Regions from separate parts of the Homo sapiens genome. Here regions 2, 3 and 4 are each linked to region 1. Evidence: promoter capture Hi-C in 16 types of primary human blood cells and fetal thymus (Javierre and others, 2016). All regions are on one chromosome and are shown on one strand. Each heading gives the region's core, a stretch centred on a gene start or on the middle of the fragment in contact. The rest is flanking DNA. Distances are from core to core; before and after follow the strand shown. Region 1 holds the start of FMOD (fibromodulin). Region 2 has its middle 13 kb from the start of PRELP. Region 3 has its middle 22 kb from the start of CHIT1. Region 4 overlaps LOC124904486 (a long non-coding RNA gene).

What was found. The method cuts DNA at HindIII sites, captures the fragments that hold promoters and counts their contacts. A CHiCAGO score of 5 or more calls a contact.
Region 2: a contact is called between a fragment that was not itself captured here and the fragment with the promoter of FMOD in region 1, in 8 of 17 cell types (naive B cells, M1 macrophages, total B cells and 5 more). The highest score is 9.5, in naive B cells.
Region 3: a contact is called between a fragment that was not itself captured here and the fragment with the promoter of FMOD in region 1, in 5 of 17 cell types (total CD8 T cells, activated CD4 T cells, naive CD4 T cells and 2 more). The highest score is 5.6, in total CD8 T cells.
Region 4: a fragment that was not itself captured here is called in contact with the fragment with the promoter of FMOD in region 1 in 2 of 17 cell types (naive B cells and total CD8 T cells); the score reaches 5.6 in naive B cells.

Annotation. Positions count from the first base shown.
Region 1 is chr1:203,349,215-203,353,121 of GRCh38, forward strand. It overlaps FMOD (fibromodulin), which reads right to left and starts at 1,908. Exons shown (of 3, transcript NM_002023.5): 1 at 1,819-1,908. The HindIII fragment of the contact is 3,247 bases long and covers 1,540-3,907 here.
Region 2 is chr1:203,461,266-203,465,172 of GRCh38, forward strand. No RefSeq gene overlaps it. Among named protein-coding and RNA genes, the nearest start is that of PRELP, 13 kb to the right of the region's middle. The HindIII fragment of the contact is 5,337 bases long and covers 1-3,907 here.
Region 3 is chr1:203,249,612-203,253,518 of GRCh38, forward strand. No RefSeq gene overlaps it. Among named protein-coding and RNA genes, the nearest start is that of CHIT1, 22 kb to the left of the region's middle. The HindIII fragment of the contact is 166 bases long and covers 2,038-2,203 here.
Region 4 is chr1:203,267,519-203,271,425 of GRCh38, forward strand. It overlaps LOC124904486 (a long non-coding RNA gene), which reads right to left. Exons shown (of 2, transcript XR_007066798.1): 2 at 1-3,907. Among named protein-coding and RNA genes, the nearest start is that of LINC01353, 18 kb to the right of the region's middle. The HindIII fragment of the contact is 1,041 bases long and covers 1,554-2,594 here.

The sequences.
Region 1 (3,907 bases), core at 658-3,157:
GACACCAAAAGAATAGCTAGAGATTGGAAACTCTTGTGTATGCTCAAGGGAAAGCAGCTTGAGGTAGGACCCTGACATTCTCCTCTCCTTTCCCAAGCTACCTGCTCCCAGCGATGACACCTAGATGACCAGGCTCTGTGTCTAGGTCCCCACATTGCTGGAAACCTGTTGCTTTTGAACCTGTTGTGCTAATGAGATAGGAACAGGGCAGACTGAAGAGGAAATGTGGGTCTGATGTCATCTGAGAGGGAAACTAAAGGTATGGAAGGTAAGAGACTAGGGGTGGCCTGGGTACCCTACCCTGGTTACCTATAGCCAATGCATGACATACTCCTGTGAGCAGTGGGCATCTTCCTGAGTGTCACCCTTGGACAGAGAAACCTTAGAATCTTTCTTGGCCTGGAAGAGTCACATACAGCCCTCACATTGCTGTTGGGCCTACTGGGGTTGGCAACTGTAAACAGAAGAAAGAAAGGAGTATAAAAGCCAACATCATCAGATCCAGTGAACTGATGGGAAAGACCCCAACTATGACACTCAACAGAGTTACCTCCTGACCACCATCCATCCCAGACCTCTCTGTCCCCTCAAAACAGTTTCCTTGGGCCCACTTCATCCCATCAGTTCCTAGGTTGCAGAGGAGCAGGCACCCTGGCTCATCCACAGGCAGCCTCAGGCCTCAGACAAAGAGCCACAGTGTTTTGGAGAAGCTGACCCAACTGCCCACTGCCTGGGCAAGCTGGCTGGTTCCTGGCTCTGGCCAGGAGAGAAGACGAATGGAGCGGCCCACTGCCAACAGAGCATTTTTCCATGCACAGCCCTGGGCTGTTGCAGGACCAAGGTGGCTGTCTGGAGGGCTGGCACAGTGAGCCTCTGTCTCCGTTTCTCCTTCTTTCAGACTGGGCACCTTGGCAGACAAGAGCCACCTTCCCCTTCAGACTCAGCTTTCTAGGGGCTGTGCACCCTGCCCACTTCAGCCTCTTCTTAGAGCCATGGGTGCTGAAAGGGTTTGATGGGGAGCTTATGCCTCTCCTTACCCCATCCCATCTCTTAGCAATGTTGCTTCAGGGTTGCATAGTCTTACACTGTTTCCCATAATGCTAGAGGCCCTCCTGTGCTCAGAGTTTCTGTAAGGTCGAAAGTTTCCAGGACTGCCACACTATCAGCTGGGGGAAGTTTACTCAGGAGCTACTGCTGTTCTTTCATTTCTCCACTCTAGAGAAAGATCTCTCCCTCCTATCAGTGGAGAAGGTCAAGCCAGAGGCCATCCCCTCACCTGGATTGCATCCCCACCCCAATCCACAGCTCCCTGGACATGGCCAGTTCTCAATGCTTCTTTTTATTCTCTCCTTTCCACTCCAAACACACACACACACACACACACACACACATTCTACACAAAAGTTTCCCCCTCTCCCATAATAGCATTTATGTACCAAACCCCTCTATAAGAGAGATTGCAGGGACATCCAGGTCTTGGAATACCCTTCAAAATGCCCACACTCCCAGCATGATGGGATTTATGAGTAGCAGGGAAGAAGCTTCCCTAGACAGAGGGTCCTTCACTTTTTCATGCCTGAGAATTGGAGGTCCCCTCAGCACCCATAAAGGAACTGTAAGAGAAAGGTACAGGGCTGGAACCCCTCCCTTATACACCCTCTCTGCCACTCTCCAGCATCCCTGGGGTCATGGCCCAGATGTGGAGAAGGAGGAATGAACCCTCCCTGCCTCCCCATCTCCCCTATCCCCTACCACTTTTCCTTTATTTCTTTTAAGGAACTGCTAGGGACAAACCCGAAGTAAAACGACTATACTTACCTCAAGTTGAACTTTTCAGAGAGTGACCACGTCCCTCTGTCTGGCCTCCTTGGGTTGGAGAACGTGTGAGAGAGGAAGAGAGAGAGGAGTGAAAGAGTCTACTGAGAGTGTGCGTGCCTGTGCCAGACCAGGGTCCCGCCCCAAATTCCTAATCAAATATTGTGAAAAGGGGCTGAGGAACCCGGATCCTGGTTTTTTTCAGCTCTGCTGCAGGGGCGGAGTTCACGCTCAACCACGCAAATCCTTCGGTCCGCCTGACGCTATAAAAACCACCTTTTTTCCACTCACTTATCTTCCCTGAAACATTGGCAGCCCTGGGTCCCTTTCTGCTGAATGAGTTAGTGGCGCCCTAGAAGTTATTTGTACAGTCTCTTATGAAGCGCCTGGATTTCTCATTAAAGCCACAAAGGCAGATGCAGGGATGGGGAGGGCCAGGGTTTGGTAAGAGACATCTTAACTCCTTCAGCAACCCACATGTCCCTCCAGAGAGCGAGAACTCGCGCTTCTCAGCTCCCCCTATAGACAGGTCATCAGGCTAGTGGATAAGGGAGCATGAATGACAAGGGACAGCCGGCTCTGGTTCCAGTTCTATCCCTAAGCAGTGTAGACTTTTCTAGGCTACAGGTCCTGCCCACCTCCACCACTGGAACAAAAGGAAAGGCAGGGACTCCAGCATTTGCTGATCACTGCTTATGCACTAGCATCATCCACTTCCACTTAATGCTCACAACAAATTCAGAGTTAATAACACTTACCTTGCTGGGTTGTAGCAAGGACTGTATCAGGTGATGTGTGGGAGGCTCCTGACCTGGCACATAGCTGAGGTTCACTGTGTCCTACCCATTTCACAGCCATAGAATTCCTCAGCCAGGGAAAGACAAGATCAGAAAGCTGGGCAGGAGCTGTACCATGAAAGGACTTTTGGGCGATGGAAGTGATTTGGTTTTTATTCTAAATGTTTTTGTTGTTGTTGTTGTTGTTTGTTTGTTTGAGAAGGAGTCTCAGCTGGGCGTGGTGGCTCATGCCTGTAATCCCAGCACTTTGGGAGGCCGAGGCAGGAGGATCATGAGGTCAGGAGATCGAAAAGGAGTCTCGCTGTGTCGCCCAGGCTGGAGTGCAGTGGCACAATCTCTGCTTTCTGCAACCTCCGCCTCCCAGGTTCAAGCCGTTCTCCTGCCTCAGCCTCCTGGGTAGCTGGGACTACAGGCACACGCCACCACGCCCAGCTAATTTTTTGTATTTTTAGTAGAGACAGGGTTTCATCATATTGGTCAGGCTGGTCTTGAACTCCTAAACACAGGTGATCCACCCACCTCAGTGCCCCAAAGTGCTGGGATTACAGGCGTGCGTCATCCGGTCCGGCCTATTCTAAATGTTTAAAAAAAAAAACATGTTTCAAGCAGGAGAAGCCATGGGATCTGATTTGCATGGGATCTAATTTACATTTTAAAAGCATGTAGGAGGGGCTGCTGTATGGAGAAGGGGAGGCCAGGGTGGAAGCAGGGAGGCTCCAACCCAGCCTCAAGGAGAGGTAATGGCAGATTGGACTGGTGCAATGGAAGAGAAGATCTTATATTTTAGACAGAGAACTGACAAGTCTTGCAGAGTTAGGAAAAGTCAAGGATGATTCCTAGAATTTTAGTTTGAGCAACTGGGTAGGTGGTGGTAACATTTCTTGACATGGGAAAGGTGACGTGGGACTGAGTTGGGTAGAAAACCAAAGTTACATTTTGGATATGCTGTTAGAGATGCCTGCTAGGCATTCCCCTGGAGATGCACGTAGACCGTTGGACATATGAATCTGAATCTGGAGTTTAGGGGCTGGAAGAAAACATTTGAGAACCATTATAATGTGGGTCACACAGAATCTCAATAGCTTAGATAAACTCATGTGTCCTAAATGTTCTCTCCTCAAGTATGTTAACTGGCTTATGCCAACATCAAAGAAACACCTTTATCTTAAAAAAATACCAACTGAGAAACCCTGAGATGACTTGAATTTGAAGAATTTAGAAGTGTCGAGGCAGATGGTCCTTTTGGTTTCTCCAATAGGTTTGAGCTTTTGACTTAGCGTGTGGGCTGTCAGAAA
Region 2 (3,907 bases), core at 359-2,858, 110 kb after region 1:
GAATGGCAGTGACCAGGGGCTGGATGGGGGTGGAAGTGTTGGGGAGATGTTGGTCGAAGGATACAAAATTTCAGTTAGAAAGGAAGAGTAAGTTTAAGAGATCTATTGTACATGACGGTGACTGTAGTTAACAGGAATATATTGTGTACTGAAAATTGCTAAGAGAATACATTTTTTTATGCTCACCACAAAAAATGAGAAGTACATGAGATAATTTATATATTAATTAGCTCAATTTAGCCATTCTACAATGTGTATGTGTGTAACTGTATATATTTAGGTTATACAACATAATGTATGTTATGTATACACACACATTATGTTGTATAACCTAAATATATATAATTTTTCTCAATTTAAAACATTTTTCAATACATCTGATTGGGGTGGTGGTTGCATGGGTATATATACATACACATATGTGTCAAAGTTTGTCAAGCTGTATACTTCAAATGGGTACCTATTTGTAACCTGTTACTCTATGCAAATTATAATTTTTAAAAATTGATTTAAAAAGTAAGAACTCTGGCTTCTGGTACAGAATGAATTATACAGTGGCAAGAGGCCCTGCAGTGGACCCCTGATGGGGAGTGTAAAGGCTAGGTGGTGTTTACCATCCCAGCCACCTGTGGAGCCCAGAGTCTAATTATAGATGGTGGGAAAGCCCCTTTTTATAAATGCAGTGTTAATGAGCGTGTATAGTTATTAAGATGGGTCAGTAGGTAGCACGTGGGGTAGAGTTGTTTATCAGAATAGATCCAGGGCTAAATGGAAATGGGTCTGGAGGAACCGAGGAGCTCGAGTTGAAGATGGATAGGATAAACCCGGGGAAGCCTCTTAGAAAAGAAAGCCTCATCTTACAAGAAGAGAAGGAGCCAGAATGCTTTGCTCCTGCTGCTTTTGTGGGCAGACCTTGATGCAAGGGAGGGAAGGCAGGGAAACATGAAAGTGAAGATGGTGGGGGCACTGGGAGGTGGGTGGCATGGCCTGGAGATCAGAGTTTTTTTTTTGGGTGCCAGAGTGTATATGAGGGCACCAGGGGAGAATCCTTGATGGAGCAGGGAGGGTGCCAACCTCACTCTTGCTGGACTAGCAGCGGCTGTGTCTCCAGGTCCCCCACTCCCCACCAGCCTGGTTCTCCAGCTTCTCTTGTGGGATCTTGGGGGCCCCTGGCCCCATGGAGCAGTGAAGAAGTATAAGACATGGATCTTCTCCTGGTGCTAGCTGTGTGGCTTTTGACAGGTTATTTAATCTGAGTTTCAGTTTCCTTTAAAGTAGAAATAAAAATCAAAATAAGGCCATACATTAAGATTCTTAACATATTGCCTGGCACATAATAGCCATTTAATGCATGGAAATGTATTAGTATTATTAATTGTGAGACAAAACTAATAATACAAGAGGAACAAATGGGAGAATAATTTAGGACAGGATATAATTAGAGATATTTTTAGGTGGCACAGACCAGACCAGCCTGCAGGCTTGGAAGCAAAGTAGAAAAGGAAATAGAAAAAAAAGTGGAGTTGGCCGGGTACAGTGGTTCACGCTTGTAATCCCAGCATATTGGGAGGCCGAGGCAGGTGGATCACAAGATTCCAGGAGTTTGAGACCAGCCTGGCCAACATGGTGAAATCCCATCTCTACTAAAATAAAAAAATTAGCCAGGTGTGGTGGCATGTGCCTATAGTCCTAGCCACTTGGGAGGCTGAAGCAGGAGAATCACTTGAAATCAGTAGGCAGAGGTGGCAGTGAGCCGAGATTGCGCCACTTCACTCCAGCCTGGGTGACAGAGTAAGACTCCGTCTCAAAAAAAAAAAAAAAAATGTGGAGTTAATTCATGATTCATGCATTCCTTTAAGGACTTACTACGTGTCCTTTCCCTGCTTCATAGCACCACCAGTTGTGATATGCTTATGTTCATTTATGTGTTTGTTTATTCCTGTATTTTCCACTGGACCGAACACCTCAGGAGGACAAGGATGATGTCTGTTTTCTTCCCAGCTATACCCTCGGAGCTTACTATAGTGCCACCCACATAATAGGTGCTCAGTAAATGTTTGTCAAATGAATGCCAGGCCTGCAGGGTGCTGGGATATACTGTAAGCCCTCATCGAGCTTTTATTCTAAAGGGGGAGCCTGAGTAATTTAGATCACTCCTCTGAGGGTGGCTTGGGGACTCTGTGAGAGCAGAAGCTGTCACGCAAAAGGCCCGAGTGACCAGAGAGGAAAAAGATGGGTGGTGGAGGGACCTGGCAGGGCTGGCACAGAAGCCCCCACAGGAGGGCAGCAGGGCACCTGAAGATAGGCTCAGGAGCCAAGGGAGAAAAGAAGAAAAAGGGTGCTTTCCCTTGGTCAAATCAGCGCCCAATTCAGGGCTTAGAGCCTGGGAGGGAAACCCCTAGAGGAGAAGCTGGAGTGAGCAGGCTTTGAACCACCTCCACGCCCACCCACCATGGGCTCCGGATGAGGGATGGGGCCTGGCTCTGGGCAACAGGAACTGGAGTAGAGTCAAGGCCAGACCAGGGAGCAGGACTGAAGGGCTCCAGGAGGTGCCTGTAGCTCTGTGAGGGCCCTAATGGAGAGAAGAGTGATGTCGGAGAAGCTGCCAGAATGATTTAATCCCACTGCAATGTGGCAGCTAATGAATTTCATATCCCCTCCCTAAGCTCAGCCGCTAGAGTAGCCCAAAGACAGAGGAGAGAAGAAGAAGGAGCAGAGAGCAAGGAGGGAGCTTAGAGTGCACAGCCGGAGGGGAGGAAAGGGTTGGCAGATGGAGGAATGGGAGAAAAGTGGGAGGCACGAAGACAGGAGGGAGAAAGAAAAGGCAGGGAGAGGAAAAGAAGAGAAAGAGCCAGAGAGGGAGGAAGGAGGAGGAGGAGGGAGGAAGGAGGAGAGAGGGAAACGGTCTCAGGTCCACAGCAATCAGAGTGTAACAGCCTCAGGAACCAAATTCCCCTTGGCCCACCCTCCCTGTGAATAGAGACAGCAACGGGAGCCCACCAGAAACCTGGACTTAGAGGTCGCTGGCTCCCCTTATCTCTCTGTGTCTTTCCCTTCCTCCTTCTGCCCACACTTCCCCACACCTCCCCACCTCCCCTTTTTTTCCCTCTCTCCAGAAAAAACAGGAGGGAGGGTGGCTGCCCGCCCGGAGAGCTACTGCATTCAGCAGGAGCCCGGCAGATGAGTAATGCTAATGGCATAATAGTGCTAAGGACAACACCTGCCCTTCACCCAGCACCTGTCTCCAAGGAGCCCAAAGCTGTCCTCAAATCCAAATTCCACTCAAGATGGAAAAGGGCTTCTCTGTCTTCCAACAAGGATCTAAATAGAAAGAAGCCTGAATTCCAGCATGAGAGAGGCAAGGTAGATGGAAGGAAGAACTTCCCAACAAGGTCATTTTAGCTTGAAGTGCTAGGCTGACCATGACTGGGGGAATGAGGCACAGTGGGGTAGAGAGCCTTCATTTCTGAGGGTCTCTAAGAAAGCAGAGCCATCACTGTCCTGGGCTGCCTTTCCCCAGGCCCCGCACCACTTCGGTAACTCCACAGCCTTTCATGGAGCCCTGGCCCATGGAGCAGACAGTTGGGGCTGCCAGCCACCTTCCAAAACATGTTTTGCCTTTTTGCCTTCATTCTGTGGCTTGGCTCAACTGGGCCTGAAAATTCCCCACACCTGGGGTGGGCCAAGATGGGATGCTCCATTGCTCACATAACTGTTTCCAGCCCCAGAGCCCTGCTCTGTCTTAGGAATGGCCTCCTGGAATGGGACAGCTGGCCCTGAGGCCCTGAGATTAGCAAGGGGCAGCTCCCAGGGACCATGTGGGGAGGAGGCCATGGCATGGAGGGTCTGGTCTTGCTGCTGCATGGACGCTAGTCCCACCCCAGAGTGCCTCCCAAGAAAGGGCACC
Region 3 (3,907 bases), core at 871-3,370, 99 kb before region 1:
GCCCCCTCTTGTCTGTGACAGTTTCTCAGACTTTCCTTTTTACCTTTTCCAATACTTTGAAAGTTTTAATGAGTATTAGTCAGGTATTTTGTAGAATGTCCTTCAATTTTGGCTTGTCTAGTGTTTTCTTCATGGTTAGATAGGGGTTCTATGTTTTGGGGAGGTAAACCACAGAGGTGAAGTGCCATCCTCATTACATCTCATTAAAAATGTAGGTATTATCTGCTGGATGCAATGACTCACACATGCAATCCTAGTACTTTAGAAGGCCAAGGTTGGGGGGATCACTTGAGGTCAGGAGTTCGAGACCAGCCTGGCCAAGTGGATTCATAGGCAAATTCTACCAAATGCCAAACTTTCTCAAATTCTTCTAAAGAATAGAATAAAAATCTCACCCCAGGCTGGGTGTGGTGGCTCACGCCTGTAATCCCAGTACTTTGGGAGGCCAAGGCAAGCAGATCACTTGAGGTCAAGAGTTGGAGACCAGCCTGGCAAACACGGTGAAACCCTGTCTCTACTAAAAATACAAAAATTAGCCAGGCATGGTGGCATGCACGTGTAATCCCAGCCACTTGGGAGGCTGAAGCAGGAGAATCGCTTGAACCCAGGAGGCAGAGGTTGCAGTGAACAGAAATCTTACCACTGCACTCCAGCCTGGTGACAGAGTGAGACCTTGTCTCAAAAAACTAAAACTAAAAGGTAGGTATTATCCACATAACTGATCTTTTTAATCTTGATTACCAGGCCGGGATACTATTTGCCAGGTTTCTACTTCTCCACCTGGCTTCCCTATTCTACTCTTTGGAAGCGAGTCAGTAAGTGCAGCCCACACTCTAGGGGTGAGGAGTTAAGCTCCACTTCCTTGGGGAAGAAGCAACTACATACCTTTATTATATAATTCTGTATGGGACATTTGTCCCTTCTCTCCCATTTATTTACTATATCATTTATTTATATCCATATGGACTCATAGATATTTATTTATGTTTTGAGTTATAATCAAATACTATTAGTACATTATTTATTTTGCTGCTCAAATTTTTCCAGCTTTGGCCACCGAGAGCTCTTTAATGTTGGCTTGTTTCAGTCAGCATAAAGTTTTTGAGACTCATCCATTTTGTTGTTATCAGTAGTCTGTTTCTTTTAATTGCAAGAAGTATTGTATTTTATGAATATATCCCACTTCATAAACATTGGGTTATTTCCAGTTTTGGCTATCAGAAATGCAAAGCTTCTATGAACAGTTATGTATACGTCTCTTCGTGGACATATGTTTTCATTTACTTTGAATAAATACACAGGTGTAAAATTAGAGTCATCAGCTAGCTTTATGTTTAATAAGAAGCTACCAAGCAAGCAACTTTTCAAAGTAATTGTGCCATTTCACACATCCAAGAGCAACGTGAGAGTTTTTGTTATGTCAAATGCTTGCCAACATGTGGTGTTGACAGTCTTTATAATTTTAGACATTCTAGTAGGCATGTAGTGATTCATTATGGCTTTAATTTGCCTTTGCCTGCTGAGTAATGATGTCGAGCACTTTTTTTATATGTCTTTGTCCATTCATATGTCTTTGTTTGCTTCTGAAAATGTTGCTCAAGTCTGTCATCCACATTTTTATTGTGTTAGAAGTTCTTTATTATTCTGGATAGAAATCCATATTCAGATATATGTACTGTGAATGTTTTCTACCAGCCTTTGGTTTTGCCTGTTCGTTTTCTTAGCTGAGTCTTTTTTTTTGTATTGTGGTAAAAACCACACAACATTAAACCATCCTAAACATTTTTAAATGTACATTTCAGTACTGTTAAGTATATTCACTTGTGCAACAAGTCTCTAGAAATTTTTCTTCTTGCAACACTGAAACTCTATACCTACCAAACATGAATTCCCCATCCCACCTCCCGCAAGTTCTTGGCGACTACCTTTTTACTTTATGTTTTGAGGATTCTGACTTATTTAGATACTTTATATGAGTGAATTATACAGTATTTGTCCATTTGTGACTGGCTTATTTCACTTAGCATAATGTCCTTAAGCTTCATTCATGTTGTAACATGCCCTTTTTTAAGGGCACATAAAATTCCATTATGTGCATATACCACATTTTCTTATCCAATTACCTGTTATTTCCTCCTGTTGGCTATTGTGAATAATCCTGCAATGAACATGGGTGTGCAAATATCTCTGAGATCTGCTTTGAAGCTTTTTGGCTATATACCCAAAAGGGGGATTGCTGGATCATATGATAGTTCTATTTTTAATGTTTTGAGAAACTCCATACTGTTTTTCATAACATCTGTATAATTTACTTTCCCACCACCAGTGCATGAGGACCCAAACTTCTCTGCATCCTTGTCAACACTTGTTATTTCCTGTTATTTTTATAATGGCTATCCTGATGGGTGTGAGGTGATATCTCATTGTGAGTTTTATTTACATTTCCCTAGTGATTAATGATGTTGAGCATATTTTCATGTACTTAATAACCATTCATATATCTTCTTTGGAGAAATGTCTATTTAAATCCTTTGCCAGTTTTTAAATTGGATTATTTGGGGTTTTTCTTGTTGTTAAGTTGTACAAGATCCTTATATATTCTGGATATTGACCCCTTATCAGATATATGACTTGCAACTCTTTTCTCCCATTCCATAGGTTGCCTTTTCTCTCTGTTGACTGTTACTTTGATGTGTAAAAAAACTTAAGTTTTATGTAGTACTATTTGTCTATTTTTTATTTTGTTGCCTGTGCTTTTGGTATCATATCCAAGAAATTATTGCCAAATCCAATTGTTGGCATATAATTGCTCATAATGGCATTTACATTTTAAGAAATTGCTGATAGTGAAGGACTTACTGTTGCCATTTTGTTCATTGTGTTCTGTTTCACTTGTAGCTTTCTTTGTCCCCCCCCCCTTTTTTCTTTTGATAATTTCTTTTGTGTTTCATTAATTTTTTTTTGTGGCCACAGATTTTGATTCCCTTCTCACTTCCTTTCCTTTACAGTCTTTGTCCATTTTCTGTTGCTGTAACAGAATACTTGAGACCAGGTAATTTATTTTTTAAAAAGAGGTTTGTTTAGCTCACAGTTCTTGATGCTGGGAAGTTCAAGATCAAACAGCTGCATCTGACGAGGGTCTCATGCTGTGTCATAACATGGAGGATGGCATCACATGGTGGTTATGCATGTGAGAGCACTGAGCGGGTACACACACAAGAGAGAAAACATGAGGGGTGACCTCACTTTATAACAACCCACTCTTGCGGTAACTAATCCAGTCACTGAAGAGCAATAATTCACTCCTGTGAAATGGCATTAATCCCTTCATAAGGACAGATGGCTTATGACCCAAATGCCTCTTAAAGGTCCCACCAGTTCTCAACACCATTACATGGGGAACAAGCCTTAACATGAATTTCAGTGGGGGATAAACCATATTCAAATCATAGCACTTACATTCTATAGTTACTGTCTTTGTGGTAACCATTGCAATTACGTGAAACATAACCTCTTAATGTTTTAACAATCTACTTTTAATGAGTACCATGTGGTGGTTTCCTGATTAAAGCCCCTTAATTCAGAAAAACTGCTTGCTTGCTTACTTGTTTGCCTGTTCTCTTACATAGGTGTGTCTCCATAGATAAATTAGGGGAAAATCTGTCCCTTTGTATTTCAAAAAGGGCAAAGAAAATTGTAATTAGATTTCTCCATAGACACACTCTTTCCTCCCTGGGGGAAACTAATAAGAAGAGGGTATAACACTTTCCCTAGCTAGAATTCCCTACAGAAGTTTGCCTTTGGACTGCAAAGAAAACGGCTCTTTCATTCTTAATCATCAGATAAGTAATTCAGTACCACTGGGACAATTGTAGATTCAGATCTTTTGGCAGAAGACTGGAAGAAT
Region 4 (3,907 bases), core at 824-3,323, 82 kb before region 1:
TCGGGACTCTGAACCCCCGGGGTTCTCAGCTCAGTTTCAGGGCACTTCCGCAGGCATCTTCACGGCTAGTTCTGTGGGTGTCCCACTTAGTTTCCCAGTGGCGAGTTCAGCCGCACCGTCTTGGGTGGATTCCTGGTGGAGCCGACTTGACCCAGCCAGTTTCCTGCGAAGTCCCGCATGCGCACTTCCCCGGGGGCAGCTTCCCAGCAAGTTCTGCGTGAGTCCTAGGTGGCTTTGCCATGAGTTCAGCGCATCCCCCAACAGCAACTTCCGGAGGAATTTTGTGGGCACCCCAGCAGGGGGCTTCCAGCCCCTGAGCCGTGGCCTGCCGTTCTCTTCCCCACAATGTTCGCTCTCTTGACTGTGGCCCGGTTCTGTCCAGGGACAACCCAGAGAACTCTTCTGCCCTCAATGGGCTGCAACGCACTTTCTCCAGCAAGGACTGAACCCCAGTCTCGGAGAGCTAGGCTTCTTCACGTTCGTTCTTTCTTTTTGGGTTCTCCCCCACCCCTGCGAGATCATCTAACATTCCTCTTTATTCCCACTGCACCATTAATTTCTATCCTGACTGATTCACAACCCCGAGTTCCGAAGCAAGGGCAAGCTGTGGGGCGCTTCTTGCCGTCTCTACTCAAAACGGAAAAAGCTGGCCAGGCGCGGTGGCTCACGTCTGTAATCCCAGCACTTTGGGAGACTGAGACAGGAGGATCGCTTGAGCCCAGGAGTTCAAGATCAGTCTGGACAACGTAAGGAGACCCTGTCTCTTCAAATATATATATATATATATATATATATATATATACACACACACACACACACATATACATATGTGTATATATACATATATATGTGTGTATATATATACACATATATGTGTGTGTATATATGTATATATGTATATAATTATATATGTATATATGTGTATATATACGTATATAATTATATATACACACATATATGTGTATATATGTAAAATTAGCCAGGCATGGTGGTACGTACCTATGGTCTCAGCTACTCAGGAGGCTGAGGCAGGAGGATCGCCTGAGCCCTGGGGTGTTGAGGCTGTGGTGAGCTGTGATGGTGCCACTGCACTCCAGCCTGGGGCAGGGACTGAGACCCCATCTCAAAAAATAAAAATAAAAAGAATGGAAAGAACCAATGAAATCTTGATGCTATTAACACCTCTGAATATTTCACTGGTTTCTAGAATCCACACAAAACAGGAATCCTACAGAATGATGGCTTGCAGAGGACATTGTAACAGGGCAGTCAAACCAGTTGGAGAAGTGTGCTCTGTCCTATAAAAACGTGCTCCTTCCTGACGTCTACCCCATGTTGGTGGGCCCATGATCTCCTCCTAGACCTCTCAGCTGAAATCAGTCCTGTCCCTGTGTTTGGTGTCCTTCATACCCTCTCGTGGCTGCCTCCCTGCCACGGCCCTGGCTCAGGCCCTGGTCACCTTGCCTAGGGTAGTGGCTTCCCTGGGAATGCCATCTCCACTCAATACTCCTTCTGGTGCTAGAGTGCCCTGCTCAAGGCCTCACCTCCCACGAAGCTTCCTGAACAGCTTAACTCACTGTTTCTTCCTGTTCTGCCCTCTCCTATTATCTGTGCAAATCTGAAGGCACTTTCTGCTCTGTCATGTACCTGATCTTTCCTGCCAGCCTAGACTGCTTTGATGAAAACTGCATCAGATAGCAGAGGAAACACTTATTTGTATGGAAGTGGCGTCCTCTGCTGGTAGAAGTATGTAATGACTGGAACTTTTCCCTAGCTGTGTAAAGGACCCTCACTGCCCAAAGCTGAGACAACCAGTGATACCCAAGGAAACCCAGCTGCCCTTCTCTCTGCCCACCCCAGTCCCTAAGCATGTAAAATTCAATCCACTGACTCACTCACCAGATTTCCACACCTCACTATTACACTAAGATGTTCCTGATGCTCCAGTCTCATGGATAATGGCAATCTTTAACATTAATTGGATATGCACTGTATATGCCAGGCACTGGGCTAATCTCTTCATCTGTATTATATTATTTAACCCTCATAGCAACTTTGTACGGCAGACAAGTGGACCAGATTCCTTAAAAGCAGAGCCTGGGACAGATTTCATGCATATCTTCTTCTGTTGGGGAAGAACCCTCAGAAGAAAGAAAAGGAAGGAGAGTGGGGTGGGGAAGGAGGGAGCCAGGCTGTGGTGTCAGCTGTGGCTGAGCTGCGGCCTGATTTCATGGGGATCCCTGAAGCATGTGCTACACCAGAGTTCATCTTGTCTTGAGGTCGGGGACTGGCCTTTCCTGCCCCTGTGTCAGACAAGCATCGGCTGCAAGCCCCAAGTAAGGCAGCTTCCATTCCCGGGGAAGTCTCTGCAGAGGGAATAACTGTGAACTGTTACCAGCCAAACCTCACAGCAGCCGGTGGGCAGGGATGGAGGGTTGCACCAGACCAGTAAAGGGGATTTGGCTGGGCACTAATAGCAACCATGGTACTGTTATTTCTACTGTACAAATGCAGAATTATAATCTTCCAGGTTTGTAGATACTTTATAGATTTTGAGTGTTTTCATATTCATTACCTCATTCAATGTTACAGTAAGCTTGAGAGGTAGTGATCATGATCCCCACTTTATGAATGAGAGTGAGAAGTGGGAGACTTCCTCAGGATTGTCCAGCCAATAAATACCTTCTCTGTTTATAAATAGCGTCTTCTCAGATACATAGGCAGCTGTATTGGGTCCCAGTCCAACCTCTTCCCTGTGACATTCAGGCTCTGGTCGTTTACCAAGGATCTTACAGCCCTTTTAACTCAAAAGAGCCATGAAGCTGGCAACCTTCCTTGCTGAGACTAGGTACGAGGATACACCTCCTATCAGGTGAGGCCTTACCTTGCCTGCCTGACACTTTGCTGGGCTCAGAATGCTTCTCCAAATTCCCCCATGGAAAGAAGACACCCGGGCACTTCTCACCTGCTCCTGCTTCTGCAGTTCCCTTGGCAGTTTCCTTAGAGGTGTCCCAGCAAGCTAGAGTCTGTCAGAGGACATTGAGGGCCAGGCCAGAGAAGTTTAGAAAGAGTCCCAGGACTACCTGAGCACTGCCTTCACCTGCCACAGGGGTAGCTGTGCAGCCAGTCTTGTGGCAGAGGCTGGGGTTTCCTGGATCTTAGAAGTGTCACCTCTTCCACCCTCTCAGGGCCCTGGACTTTCGCCCTCAAGCTGCCTCTGGATCTAGCAAAGGCCCTGAGCCATCTTTGGAATGGATGAGTTCGAAAAGCTGCATTAGAGTGGCTCCCCTCCTTCAACGCCACCTCATCAGAGTTCTAAGGGATGCTTCACACCTAAGAGCTGATGAGGTACAGCAGGAGCACACAGGGGACCCAGAAACCTCGCATTGTGTTGAGAAACAGCTGACTGACTCAGGTTCAAATCCCCCACTCTATCACAGGGCATCTCAGTTAAGATGAGGTAGAAATGAGAGTAACAGAAAATTCACAACAGCAGCAATTGTGTTGTTATTGAGTGGCCCTTGCCCTCATGGTACAAGGTAGCACCTGCCTACCAAGTAGCAAAACAGAGGGAGGGACAAAGAAGAAGGAGCAGACAGCAGATGCACAACCTGTGTCTTAAGAAAGGTTCCCAGACACTGCTGCATAACGCGTCTACTTACTTCTCTTTGGCCAGAACTCAGTCATGTGACCACGCCTACCCACACAGGAGACTGGGAAATGCAGTCTTCATTCTGGGCAGCCATGTTTCCTGCTACAACTTTTCTTACCCTGATAAAATAGTAGAAAGTTATTGGAGACTAGCAGCTTCTACCACACTAGATTCTGGCCTCGGGCAAGTCTCATGGCCTCTCTAGGCTTGGAGATAATGCTATCTTACAACAAACAATTTGTATTAACTGAAGCC